3 separate regions of the Homo sapiens genome follow, and all the other regions are linked to region 2. Evidence: promoter capture Hi-C in human tissues and cell types (Jung and others, 2019). All regions are on one chromosome and are shown on one strand. Each heading gives the region's core, a stretch centred on a gene start or on the middle of the fragment in contact. The rest is flanking DNA. Distances are from core to core; before and after follow the strand shown.

Region 1 (4,107 bases), core at 1,558-4,057, 80 kb after region 2:
CTCTTCTTGTTGAATTGATCCCTTTACCATTATGTAATGGCCTTCTTTGTCTCTTTTGATCTTTGTTGGTTTAAAGTCTGTTTTATCAGAGACTAGGATTGCAACCCCTGCTTTTTTTTGCTTTCCATTTGCTTGGTAGATCTTCCTCCATCCTTTTATTTTGAGCCTATGTGTGTCTCTGCATGTGAGATGGGTCTCCTGAATACAGCACATTGATGGGTCTTGACGCTTTATCCAATTTGCTAGTCTGTGTCTTTTAATTGGGGCATTTAGCCCATTTACATTTAAGGTTACTATTGTTACGTGTGAATTTGATCCTGTCATTATGATGTTAGCTGGTCATTTTGCCCGTTAGTTGATGCAGTTTCTTCCTAGCATTGACAGTCTTTACAATTTGGCATGTTTTTGCAGTGGCTGGTACCAGTTGTTCCTTTCCATGTTTAGTGCTTTCTTTAGGAGCTCTTGTAAGGCAGGCCTGGTGGTGACAAAATCTCTCAGCATTTGCTTGTTTGTAATGGATTTTATTTCTCCTTCACTTATGAAGCTTAGTTTGGCTAGATAGGAAATTCTGGGTTGAAAATTCATTTCTTTAAGAATGTTGAATACTGGCCCCCACTGTCTACTGGCTTGTAGAGTTTCTGCCCAGAGTTCCACTGTTGGTCTGATGGGCTTCCCTTTGTGGGTAACTCGATCTTTCTCTCTGGCTGCCCTGAATATTTTTTCCTTCATTTCAACCTTGGTGAATCTGACAATTATGTGTCTTGGGGTTGCTCCTCTTGAGGAATATCTTTGTGGTGTTCTCTATATTTCCTGAATTTGAATGTTGGTCCACCTTGCTAGGTTGGGGAAGTTCTCCTGGATAATATCCTGAAAAGTGTTTTCCAATTTGGTTCCATTCTCCCCATCACTTTCAGGCACACCAATCAAATGTAGATTTGGTCTTTTCACATAGTCCCATGTTTCTTGGAGGTTTTGTTCATTTATTTTTACTCTTTTTTCTCTAACCTTGTCCTCTCACTTTATTTCATTAATTTGATCTTCAGTCACTGATACCCTTTCTTCCACTTGATCGAATAGGCTATTGAAGCTTGTGCATGTGTCACGTAGTTCTCCTGCCATGGTTTTCAGTTCCATCAGGTCATTTAAGGTCTTCTCTACATGTTTATTCTAGTTAGCCATTAGTCTAATCTTTTTTCAACGCTTTTAGCTTCCTTGCAATGGGTTCGAACATCCTCCTTTAGCTCAGAGAAGTTTGTTATTACCAACCTTCTGAAGCCTACTTCTGTCAGCTCATCAAAGTCATTCTCTGTCCAGTTTTGTTCCATTGCTGGTGAGGAGCTGCCATCCTTTTGGGGAGAAGAGGTGCTCTTGTTTTTAGGATTTTCAGCTTTCTGCTCTGGTTTCTCCTTATCTTTGTGGTTTTTATCTACCTTTTGTCTTTGATGCTGGTGACCTACCGATGGGGTTTTGGTGTAGATGACCTTTATGTTGATGTTGATGCTATTCCTTTCTGTTTGTTAGTTTTCCTTCTAAGAATCAGGTCCCTCAGCTGCAGGTCTGTTGGAGTCTGCTGGAGGACCACTCCAGACTCTGTTTGCCTGGGTATCACCAGTGGAGGCTGCAGAACAGCAAATATTGCTGCCTGATCCTTCCTCTAGAAGCTTCATCCCAGAGGGGCATCTGGCTGTGTGAGGTGTCAGTTGGCCCCTACTGGGAGGTGTCTCCCAGTTAGGCTACACAGGGGTCAGGGACCCACTTGAGGAGGCAGTCTGTCTGTTCTCAGAGCTCGAACACCATGCTGGGAGAACCACTACTCTCTTCAGAGCTGTCAGACAAGGACGTTTAAGTCTGCAGAAGTTTCTGCTGCCTTTTGTTCAGCTATGCCCTGCCCCCAGAGGTGGGGTCTATAGAGTCAGCAGGCCTTGCAGAGCTGCAGTGGGCTCCACCCAGTTTGAGCTTCCCAGGCTGCTTTGTTTACCTACTCAAGCCTCAGCAATGGCGGATGCCCCTCCCCCTGCCAGGTTGCTGCCTTGCAGGTTGATCTCAGACTGCTGCACTAGCAGTGAGCAAGGCTCCGTGGGCATGAGACCCGCCAAGCCAGGCATGGGATATAATCTCCTGGTGTGCCTTCTGCTAAGACCACTGGAAAATCACAGTATTTAGGTGGAGGCATCCCGTTTTTCCAGGTACAGTCTGTCACGGCTTCCCTTGGCTAGGAAAGGGAAATCCCCTGACCCCTTGTGCTTCCTGGGTGAGGTGATGCCCTGCCCTGCTTCAGCTTGCCCTCCGTGGGCTGCACCCACTGTCCAACCAGTCCCAGTGAGATGAACCAGGTACCTCAATTGGAAATGCAGAAATCACCGTCTTCTGCGTCAATCACACTGGGAGCTGCAGACCGGAGCTGTTCCTATTTGGCCATCTTGGAATGGAATCCATGTCTCTACTAATAATAAAATTAGCCAGGTGAAGTGGCAGATGCCCATAATCCCAGCTACTTGGGAGGCTGAGGCAAGAGAACTGCTTGAACCCAGGAGGCAGAGGTTGCAGTGAGCTGAGATTGCACCACACTGCACTCCAGCCTAGGCGACAGAGCAAGACTCCATCAAAAGAAAAAAAAAAGAAAGAAAATGGAGAAAGAACCAAAGACTCAACGAATGCAGCTCCAGATACTGAAAAGTAAAAGAGATTCTCTGCTAGAGTATTTGGAGGGATTGTAGCCCTGCTGATAGCATGATTTAGCCTCATAACACTTAGTTCAAATTTCCCCAGAGAAGGTGTGGCCCTGCTACAACTCAGGTTTAGCCCCGTTAAGATTTAGTTTGGATTCCTGGCTCCAGAACTGTAAAACAACACATTTCTACTGTTTTAAGCCACTCAATTTGTGGTAATTTGTTACAGCAGCCATGGGAAATGAATACAGACCCCTTCCCTTCTCTACATATACTCATTTCTTTGTTACAGCAGCCATGGGAAATGAATACAGACCCCTTTTCTTCTCTATATATACTCATTTCTTTGGAGAGTCCTTTGAAGATCCCATTCAGTCTCATGGTTTTAAATACCATCTATATACTGATTACCACAAATTCCAGCCTAGAACTCTCCCTTGAACTCCCAATTTGGACACACAATCGTATATTTGGTATGCCCACCTGGATGCAGAAGAACTTCCCAGCCAACAAGTTCCACCCACAGTCTTCCCCAGTTCAGTTATAGGCAACACCATCCTGGCTGTTCAAACAAAAAACCTTGGAATTATCCCGGATCTTTCATTCTCATATTCAGTCAGTTATACAATTTTGTTGCCTATATATTAAAAAGTTATCAGGAACCTGACCAGTTCTTACTGTCTCTGGTGCTCTTTGCCCGGATGACTGCTTCTACCCTTGCCCCACTCAATCAATTCTGAAATGTGGTCAGAGTAAACTTTTTAAAGTCAGTCAGTTAGAGATCAAGTTATTTCTCTATGGCTACATATTTCTTTTAGAACAAATGCCCAAATCTTTACAATACCTTCAGAAGCCTACCATCTGGTGCACCCTACCACTTCCCTATCCTGCTCTCCAACTTCATCTTCTTATGTTCTGGCCCTCACTCATTCAGCTGCCCAAAATCAATGTATCACTTTAGTGTTCCCCCAACACACCAAAGGAAGCTTCCACTTCAGAGTCTTTGCTGGTCCCTCTACTTGGAATGTTCTTCCTTCAGATATCCGGATGGCTCACTCCCTGCTTGGTCCTTTACCTCCTTCAAGTCTTTATTCAATTGTCACTTTCTCAATGAAGCCTTCTCCAACCATTCTACTCAATATTGCAAGCCCTTTACCCCAACACCGGCCTCATTACCTTACGTGGTTCTTTTTTCTCTCCAAAGTACTTATCGTCTTTTAGCAAACTGTATACTTTACTAATTTATTATGGTTATTGACTGTTTTCTCCATTACAGTATATGCTTTGTGAAGGTAGAGATTTTTGTCTGGTTTATTTGTTGCTATATCATGAATATCTAGAACAGTGCCAGGCATGTATTACATATAACTGATTTCTAGTATATAGGAAGTAGACTGCACTACCCTAGTATTTAAGGTCCTGATGAATCCATTACAAA
Region 2 (4,629 bases), core at 176-2,675:
CCTCTGTGGAATCCACCACATTTGCAGAGGCCTGCAGGGGCATGGGTGTGAAGCCCTCTCAGCAGGAAACACACCTGCATTCACACCCACACACATGTCCAGAAGCCAGTGGGTCACAGGGATGGGTCAGACTTGGATGCAGGAGCCCCCATTCGAAGCCAGATTAACGGTCCTCTACAGGTCCTCCAAGGAGGCCCCAAGCCCTCCAGAGCTACACAGAGCACCTTTTCAGCTGGGACGGCATTGCCAGGATTGCGTAAAGAAAGAATGTACTTCCCACTGTGGCAGTGGTGGTTGCACCATGAATCCAGAGCCACCCTGCAAGGGCATTCCCAGGACTTCTGACCGAGACATGTAGACGCTAGCTCCCTGCTAAGCTCACACAACCACGGTGCTCCAGTCTTTGCAAGTGGACACCACAGAGAAACACCAAAGGGAGGGGGCTCCCCAGGGACTGGGTCCATTTCTCAGCTCAGCCCAGTAGGCAGGGCCTTAAGGACAATCCCAGCAGACCAAGAGCTCAGATCTGGGCCACGAGTCTTCTTAGGAATAGGGACACAGATCCTGAGCACATCTACCAGTCCCCACTCCAGCTTGAACCCCCCAGTCCCCACTGTCGGCAAGCACACCGCTCTCAACATATTCCACACACATGAGCCCGTCACAGTCCCAAGAGTACTACACTGTACACAGCACATGTACACACAGCACACGGTTCCCCATGCCACACACTGCGCTGACACACGTCCCAGGTCCCCCCTGTGCCGACGCATCTTCCCATCCGACAGAGGACCCATTTTAATGAACGCGGTACACACAGACACTGAAAAGTCCTGCTGTCCTCAGCCTACATACACACACAGCGCCCTGCAGTCCCGCACAGCCAGCACACCACACCGGCCTGGACACAAACTGTGCCCACACAGAGCTCCCGACCAGAACTCAGCGACTCCCGCCCCCGCCGTGCGGCCTGCGCTCCCGCCCCCCGCGTACTAAGCCGATCTCCACCTTGGACTTCCCGGCCCCCTCTTTTCCCCTCCAGCTCCTGTTCCCCAACAACCCCACCCCCGGGCTTCGGGAAACTTTTCTTCAGGTCCCTAAAAGGGGACACCTGGAGTTCCTCCGGTCCCGCCCTGTCCCCGGACACGCGCAAGCCGCCCTTTATTTCCCAGCCCAGCTCCCGCCAGACCCAGCGGGGAAAGGTCACCGTAGGCAGCCCCCTGCCTGCGCCCTGGGGGTGGTGATAATAACAGCTGTCACCGGGGGATGGTCGGGGGGAAGGGAGAGGTGTCGGCCCCGCGCCGAGCCGGGGGCGCAAGGTGGTCGCGGTGACGCGCCGGGGAAGCGCAGAGAAGCAGCGGCGGCGGCGGCTGCGCCTTCCGAGCCCGGGCGGCGGCCGAGGCACGCGGAGCTGTCCGTTCAGCACCACCGCGCCGCGCCCCGCGCAGGGCGGGCGCCCCGTCACACCCGCTCTGCTCCCGCCCCGGCTCACGGGGCGAATGCGGCGCGGGTTCCTGCCTCTCTGGGTGGGTGAGGGGCGCGCGGATCCGGAGAGGGGGCTCCGGGAGCGGCGGGACCACGCAGCCACCTGTGAGCCTTCGGCAGCTGCGGGCGGCGGCGGCGTACCCGGCCCGAGACGGGAGGAGACGCTCGGCGGCCCCCGCCCGCCGGCCCGCCGGGCGCACACACTCGCACCCGCGCACGCACCGCCAGCAGGCAGCGGCCACCGCCGCGATGCTCGCCCGCGGGTTGGGGAAGTTTCCCGCCGGCCTCGGCCGCGGGCACCCGTGCTCCCAGGTAAGCGCTTCCAGAACGCGCAGGGCGAGCCCGGGCAGCCCCGCTGGGTGAGGCGCAGCGCACGCGGCCCCGGGGCATAGCGCCAGGCCGGCAGGGAGACCTGGGCCGGGGACGCGGGGGCTGCAGGCGTGGGATCTGGACCCAGGGGAGGCCGGGCCGCCCCCCTCATTCCCGCGGCCCGGGTTTCCAGACTCCAGCGCATCCCCCCCACCCCACCAAAGCTACGCGCCCCCCGTGTCGGCCCGGCCCTGCCCGTGCGTATCTCAGCTCCGGTCCCGCCTGTCTGCGGCGAGCGGGCGGGGGCGTCTCCCGGGCCTGCCCATGGACAAGGTCAGCATGCAGCCCCCTGGGCGCTCAGAGCCGCGGGGACGCGACCCCGCACGCGCAAAGCGCCCACCGAGACCCCTGGGGTGGAGCTGTGCTAATAGAAACATACCCACCCCCAGCCTTTCCTGGGAGGGGATCAGACCCCTCAAACTCTTGCCCCAGCCCAGCCCTTCAGCACCCAAGACCCACCAGGAGGCCTGGGCCCGCCAGTAATGGGTAGGGAGAGGGGGCCCCGCCAGGGCGCACGGCGCTCTCGCCGACGCTGTTCCCTCCGCTTCCAGGTGTAGCGCCCCCGCGCGGCGCGGGCGGCCGGCGCCTCCAGCATGACCGGCCAGAGCCTGTGGGACGTGTCGGAGGCTAACGTCGAGGACGGGGAGATCCGCATCAATGTGGGCGGCTTCAAGAGGAGGCTGCGCTCGCACACGCTGCTGCGCTTCCCCGAGACGCGCCTGGGCCGCTTGCTGCTCTGCCACTCGCGCGAGGCCATTCTGGAGCTCTGCGATGACTACGACGACGTCCAGCGGGAGTTCTACTTCGACCGCAACCCTGAGCTCTTCCCCTACGTGCTGCATTTCTATCACACCGGCAAGCTTCACGTCATGGCTGAGCTATGTGTCTTCTCCTTCAGCCAGGAGATCGAGTACTGGGGCATCAACGAGTTCTTCATTGACTCCTGCTGCAGCTACAGCTACCATGGCCGCAAAGTAGAGCCCGAGCAGGAGAAGTGGGACGAGCAGAGTGACCAGGAGAGCACCACGTCTTCCTTCGATGAGATCCTTGCCTTCTACAACGACGCCTCCAAGTTCGATGGGCAGCCCCTCGGCAACTTCCGCAGGCAGCTGTGGCTGGCGCTGGACAACCCCGGCTACTCAGTGCTGAGCAGGGTCTTCAGCATCCTGTCCATCCTGGTGGTGATGGGGTCCATCATCACCATGTGCCTCAATAGCCTGCCCGATTTCCAAATCCCTGACAGCCAGGGCAACCCTGGCGAGGACCCTAGGTTCGAAATCGTGGAGCACTTTGGCATTGCCTGGTTCACATTTGAGCTGGTGGCCAGGTTTGCTGTGGCCCCTGACTTCCTCAAGTTCTTCAAGAATGCCCTAAACCTTATTGACCTCATGTCCATCGTCCCCTTTTACATCACTCTGGTGGTGAACCTGGTGGTGGAGAGCACACCTACTTTAGCCAACTTGGGCAGGGTGGCCCAGGTCCTGAGGCTGATGCGGATCTTCCGCATCTTAAAGCTGGCCAGGCACTCCACTGGCCTCCGCTCCCTGGGGGCCACTTTGAAATACAGCTACAAAGAAGTAGGGCTGCTCTTGCTCTACCTCTCCGTGGGGATTTCCATCTTCTCCGTGGTGGCCTACACCATTGAAAAGGAGGAGAACGAGGGCCTGGCCACCATCCCTGCCTGCTGGTGGTGGGCTACCGTCAGTATGACCACAGTGGGGTACGGGGATGTGGTCCCAGGGACCACGGCAGGAAAGCTGACTGCCTCTGCCTGCATCTTGGCAGGCATCCTCGTGGTGGTCCTGCCCATCACCTTGATCTTCAATAAGTTCTCCCACTTTTACCGGCGCCAAAAGCAACTTGAGAGTGCCATGCGCAGCTGTGACTTTGGAGATGGAATGAAGGAGGTCCCTTCGGTCAATTTAAGGGACTATTATGCCCATAAAGTTAAATCCCTTATGGCAAGCCTGACGAACATGAGCAGGAGCTCACCAAGTGAACTCAGTTTAAATGATTCCCTACGTTAGCCGGGAGGACTTGTCACCCTCCACCCCACATTGCTGAGCTGCCTCTTGTGCCTCTGGCACAGCCCAGGCACCTTATGGTTATGGTGTAAGGAGTATGCCCAGCCCCTGAGGGGAGAGATGCATGGGATATGCACCCAGGTTTCTTTTACAGTTTTTAGAATCGTTTTTAGAGGGTGGTGTGTCTGACACCATGCCTTTGCACCTTTCCATGAAATGACACTCACTGGTCTTTGCATCGTGGGCATAAAATGTTCACCTTTTTGCCAGATGAGTACACCCAGAATGCTAATTTTTCTGTCCATCGTGTACGCTATTCTAGTGCTTGTGGCCCAGTACTGTCTATGAGTTGTCGTGCTCCTGTTTCTGAGGTTGTCGTGTGAGTTCTGTACAAAAAGCCCCCACAAGTCGTCCAGTAGAAATGCATCTATGAGGTCAGCAAGGATATGATGAGATTTTGCTCACAGTCATGTGAAAACAAAATCTCAGCTCTTTATCCATTGCTTTCACTTAGTTTTAGTACCAAAACAAAGAGAATGCAAAGTTAAGCAGACTTGACCAATGCAAGTCTCTAAGTTGTTTTTATAAATGATCTGTAGTTCCGTGGCTTGCATGGGTGCACCAATCATCTTTAGAACGATGTACACTGATGTTCATCTCATAAATGTCACTCTTTAGAGAATGTTACTTAGTTAAACATGCAGTGAAGATCGAATTTTTTTCCCAAGAACAGATGTGTTAGGGAGAGGGG
Region 3 (4,206 bases), core at 10-2,509, 94 kb before region 2:
ATGTCTTGTTCTCACTCATCTTTCCTCTATCTCATTTAAATTCAAAACCATCATTTCCAAAACAGAAGAGAAAGAGAAAGCGGGGGGCGGAGGGAACAAGAGTGCATATACCCAGATTATCTATCTATCTACCTATCTATCTATCTATCATCTGTCTATCTATTTATTATTGAGACAGGGTCTCACTGTGTTGCCCAGGCTGGTCTTGAACTACTGGGCTCAAGGGATCCTCCTGCCTTGGCCTTCCAAAGTGCTGGGATTACAGGCGTGAGCCACCGCACCTGGCCCCAGATAATCTTAGTATCAAGTTATGTGAGGTTGATATTGCATTGACAAGTCTAGGGTCAAAACATTGACATATTTAAAAACTCATCCTATTTATTCAGCGTGGATCTCAATAGATTTAGGTGGTACCAAGTTCTTGTACAGACCACAATACAGAGGAAGCAATGGGAAATCAACCTCTTTCCTAACCACATAGCTGTTTGCTTTTAACTGGATGATTGAGGCAGCTTCTAACTTTTGTGTCCAAATGATGATTTCCAGTGTTTTGGAAAAGTAATAAGATCCTTCCTGGGGCCAGTTTGGAGCCAGCTCTCAAAATCACAGACTATTGGGCTAAAAAGGCTCCTAAGGACACCAGCACTTGCTGAGTAAACACAGCCTAATGGTCACCATTTTGTTCTCGAGTGTACAGAGAACATGAGTAACCAGGGAGCGTAGAAAGGAAAATAATTTCACAGGGTTGCACAAGTATTACTTATTGCTTTGTTACCCACAGGGGAAGTTCATGGAGTTTAAGACACCATCTTGATCAGGGTGTTCACTCTGCAATCGGTCCTGTGGGGGGTTTTCAACACTGTGCCCAGCTATAGCCTTCAAAATTGTCTTGTAAAAATTCCTGCTGTTCTGACACAATGCAAGAGAAGGTCTCATTCTTGTGTGTTTGCATATTTTGTGCAGGAGATGAGAGCTTACCCTGGCTCGTCTCTCTAACACGGTCTTTGGTGAGGAATATGCCAAAACCTGGGTCACAGTCCTTGCATCACTCTGGAAGGTGCAGACTTCCACAGCATGGTGGCAATTCCTAAGGCCAGCTGCAGAGCTGCTGTCAGAGGCTCTCCCTGTGTGGAGCCAAAGATTTCAAATACTGCACATTTTCTGCTTTGTTTGATTTTTAGGGTAAACACCCTTCTGTGTGTAGGTAAAGGAAAAAAAAAATCAGCCAATTTTATGTCTCACTGACCTAGAAAGGGCAAGCTCTGAAACTTTCATATAACAAAAAGAATCTAGTCTGGAATGAAGTAACTCACTTTTGCAAATATTTGTACTGACAATACAGTCTGTGCATACAATTTTTTTTAGGATACTCAAATATAGGAATTTGAGATGTTTGAAACCTAACAAATAATTCTCACCATATGCCCATTTTTCTTAATCTTATCATAATATTTCAGAATAAATTCGCCAGCTTTCTTACATCCAACTGCCCTGATATAATGAAAAGAGAGCCCTTCTCTCTCTTTTATTTTTGGGGAGTGTTTTTAAATCAAGATTTATATTCAGCATGACATTGCTGACGTGATTCACTCCTCTTGGCTCTCCAGGGTCATAGCCCAACTTCATAACCTCAGCACTAATAACAAAATAAAAAAACTAATAGCAATACTTATTATTTATTGATTAATGTGTATGGACCATCACTTCTGAGAATTTTATATACACCATGTAATTTAATTCTCATGACAATTAGTAAACAAATAAAGCTAACACCAAATGTTTACTATGTGTGAAGGTTAATTTAATGCATCAACTTGACTGGGCCACAGGATGCTCAGACTGGGGCACAGTTAAACATCATTCCAGGGTGTATCTATCTAGGGAGTATTTGCGGAAAGATGAACATTTGAATTGGTAAAGCAGATGGCCCTCCTTAATGTGGGTGGGTCACATCTCATCTGTTGAGGGACTGAATAGAACAAAAAGGAGGAAGATCAAATATGCTCTTGGCCGGGCTGCTTGAGCTGGGACATAGCGCTCTTGGTTCTCAGGCCTTCAGGTCTGGACTGGAAACTACACCACCTGCCCTCCAGCTTTCAGGCCTTCGAATGACACCACCAACTTTCCCAGGTCTCCAGTGTGCAGATGGTCCCTCTTGAGAGTTTTCAGCCTCCATAGAGCCAAAACCATATATAGACATAGCCTGTTGGTTCTGTTTCTCCAGAGAACTCTGATTAATAGACTATGTATCAGACATGATCCTAATCATTTTACATATTAACTCATGAACCTTCATAATCCTCTTTAGTCTTATAAAATAGATTTTTACCCATTTTACCCATTTTAAAGACTACTATGTCCACATTACAGTTGAGGTAGAGATATCATCTGATAGGCTGAGAGAGTCAACAACTTGGCTCAAGTTTTGCACCTAGACTGTTACATTAACCAAAATGGCAACTGTTTCTTCTGTTGCGAATCTACCCTTTTGGGATATCAGAATTATAATCTTCTTTTCCTTCAAGCCTTCAATGGCTTACTGTTGCCTCTGGAGTGAATTCCAAACTTCTTAGTGTAGCATTAGAGGTCCCAACATTTGGCTCCAGCCTCGGTTCCCATCCATTTCTGCTCTCTACTCTGGGCTATGACCACCTTACGTGGGATCTCTCAGCTCCACTGCATTCTTTGGTGCTTATGGGCATGTGCAGGTGCTACTTGGGTCATTTCTCTCCATCCCTGCCTACTGTTACCACCCATTCCTAGGCCCTCATCATTTCTCACCTGAATTACTGCCGCCACCTTTGAACTGGTCTTCCTTCTCCCCTGCAAACCATCCTCTACTCAGTAGCCAGAATGATCTTTCTAAAATGCAAGCCTGAACATGGCATGTCCATGCTTAAGGCTTCTAATAATTTCCCCTTGCCATAAGAATAAAGTCCAGATTCCTTCAAACGGCCCTCATGACCTCGTCCCAGCTTACCTCTCCAGCCTCATCTCTCACTATCCTCCTAAATGGGCCTCTTCATTCTTCAGCCTTTGCATGAAAAGGCCCTTTTGCCTAGAATATTCTGCTTTAGTCTCACATGGACAATGCCTACTCAACCTTTAGTTCTCAGCTGGGATGTCATCTCCCTTAGGACACCATCCTTGACTCACCCCTACAAATGTTTTCCAGGCTGGAAGCATGCGGGGCCATAAAGAGGGCCACACACATCATGCCAGCTACTCATTGTTGCTCTTCTCCCACTGTGTGGTCATGGCCTGGCTCTTGCCAGCTTCTAACACTGGACTCTGCATTCCCTAAATGGCAGGACTGTTATTCACTATTGTTGCCCCAATACCTGCCACACCATAGCAAACTCAATAAATGTCCAGTAAAGAAAGTGACCAAATGAACAAATGAATGAGTATCTGGAATGCCTGCTCTGTCTTCACTTCCTGAAGAAATTTCTGCTTTGCTTCAAAAGTTGGCTCCAACCTCATTCTGCCTCTAAAGCTGTCCTTGTCCCGTCCCCTCTGTGGAATTAACAGTGCCCTTCTCGTCTGGAAAATGTGCTATTAGATAGATAGATAGATAGATAGATAGATAGATAGATAGATAGATAGTATATTTAGCAGGATTACAAATATGGCTCTACAAAATAGTGGCAAGGATTCTATGTTTACCCACTTCAAGCTTAGTCTTTGGTGCAGGGCCTGGCCCTAGTAGGCTGTCAATAAACATTTGTGGAATTGAATACTGTGTTTCACATCACCTGTCCATTCACATCAGCTGAGGCTTTTCATTAGGATTACATCATCACAAATGGAAGAAACTGAAGGATGCAAAGAGAAAAAATTAGGAAAGATGTAGCATTGCGATGAAACAATGTACGATATCCAGAAAGACACCCAGCCTTCTGCTCCTGGGGCTGTCTGCTTCCTCCCTAGGGGAACGTGCGGCACATTGTCTCAAAGCATAGTCTTTCTCCCCTATCTTGTCTCCACTGACTCCTTCACAATGGGTCTGCAGCCCAGCATATGCTTAGCTATTTAGACAGCAAATAATAGTGGGTTTTCCCCCACCATGTTAACATTCAGTGCTAAGCAGTAAGTATATGCAAGTAGGTGGCAAGCCTTGAGTGGCTAAACCTTGGTGTCATTTGATACATCAATCTGGGGCTCAACCATCCCAAGGAGTTTTGTCCTCAGAAGAAGCCAAGTCAC

Evidence for each region. The method cuts DNA at HindIII sites, captures the fragments that hold promoters and counts their contacts. A contact is called where the count stands out against the background at its distance.
Region 1: a fragment that was not itself captured here is called in contact with the fragment with the promoter of KCNS2 in region 2 in 2 of the 25 tissues and cell types used here (H1 embryonic stem cells and adrenal gland).
Region 3: a fragment that was not itself captured here is called in contact with the fragment with the promoter of KCNS2 in region 2 in 2 of the 25 tissues and cell types used here (liver and lymphoblastoid cells).

Annotation. Positions count from the first base shown.
Region 1 is chr8:98,504,107-98,508,213 of GRCh38, forward strand. The region is part of intron 10 of STK3 (serine/threonine kinase 3); the gene reads right to left. Among named protein-coding and RNA genes, the nearest start is that of KCNS2, 79 kb to the left of the region's middle. The HindIII fragment of the contact is 3,985 bases long and covers 816-4,107 here.
Region 2 is chr8:98,425,533-98,430,161 of GRCh38, forward strand. KCNS2 (potassium voltage-gated channel modifier subfamily S member 2) reads left to right here and starts at 1,426. Exons shown (of 2, transcript NM_020697.4): 1 at 1,426-1,797; 2 at 2,406-4,629. The coding sequence starts at 2,448. The coding sequence ends at 3,881. It also overlaps a transcript of STK3 not described here. RefSeq lists a silencer at 1,326-1,525. The HindIII fragment of the contact is 18,533 bases long and covers 1-4,003 here.
Region 3 is chr8:98,331,784-98,335,989 of GRCh38, forward strand. No RefSeq gene overlaps it. Among named protein-coding and RNA genes, the nearest start is that of NIPAL2, 40 kb to the left of the region's middle. The HindIII fragment of the contact is 6,430 bases long and covers 1-4,206 here.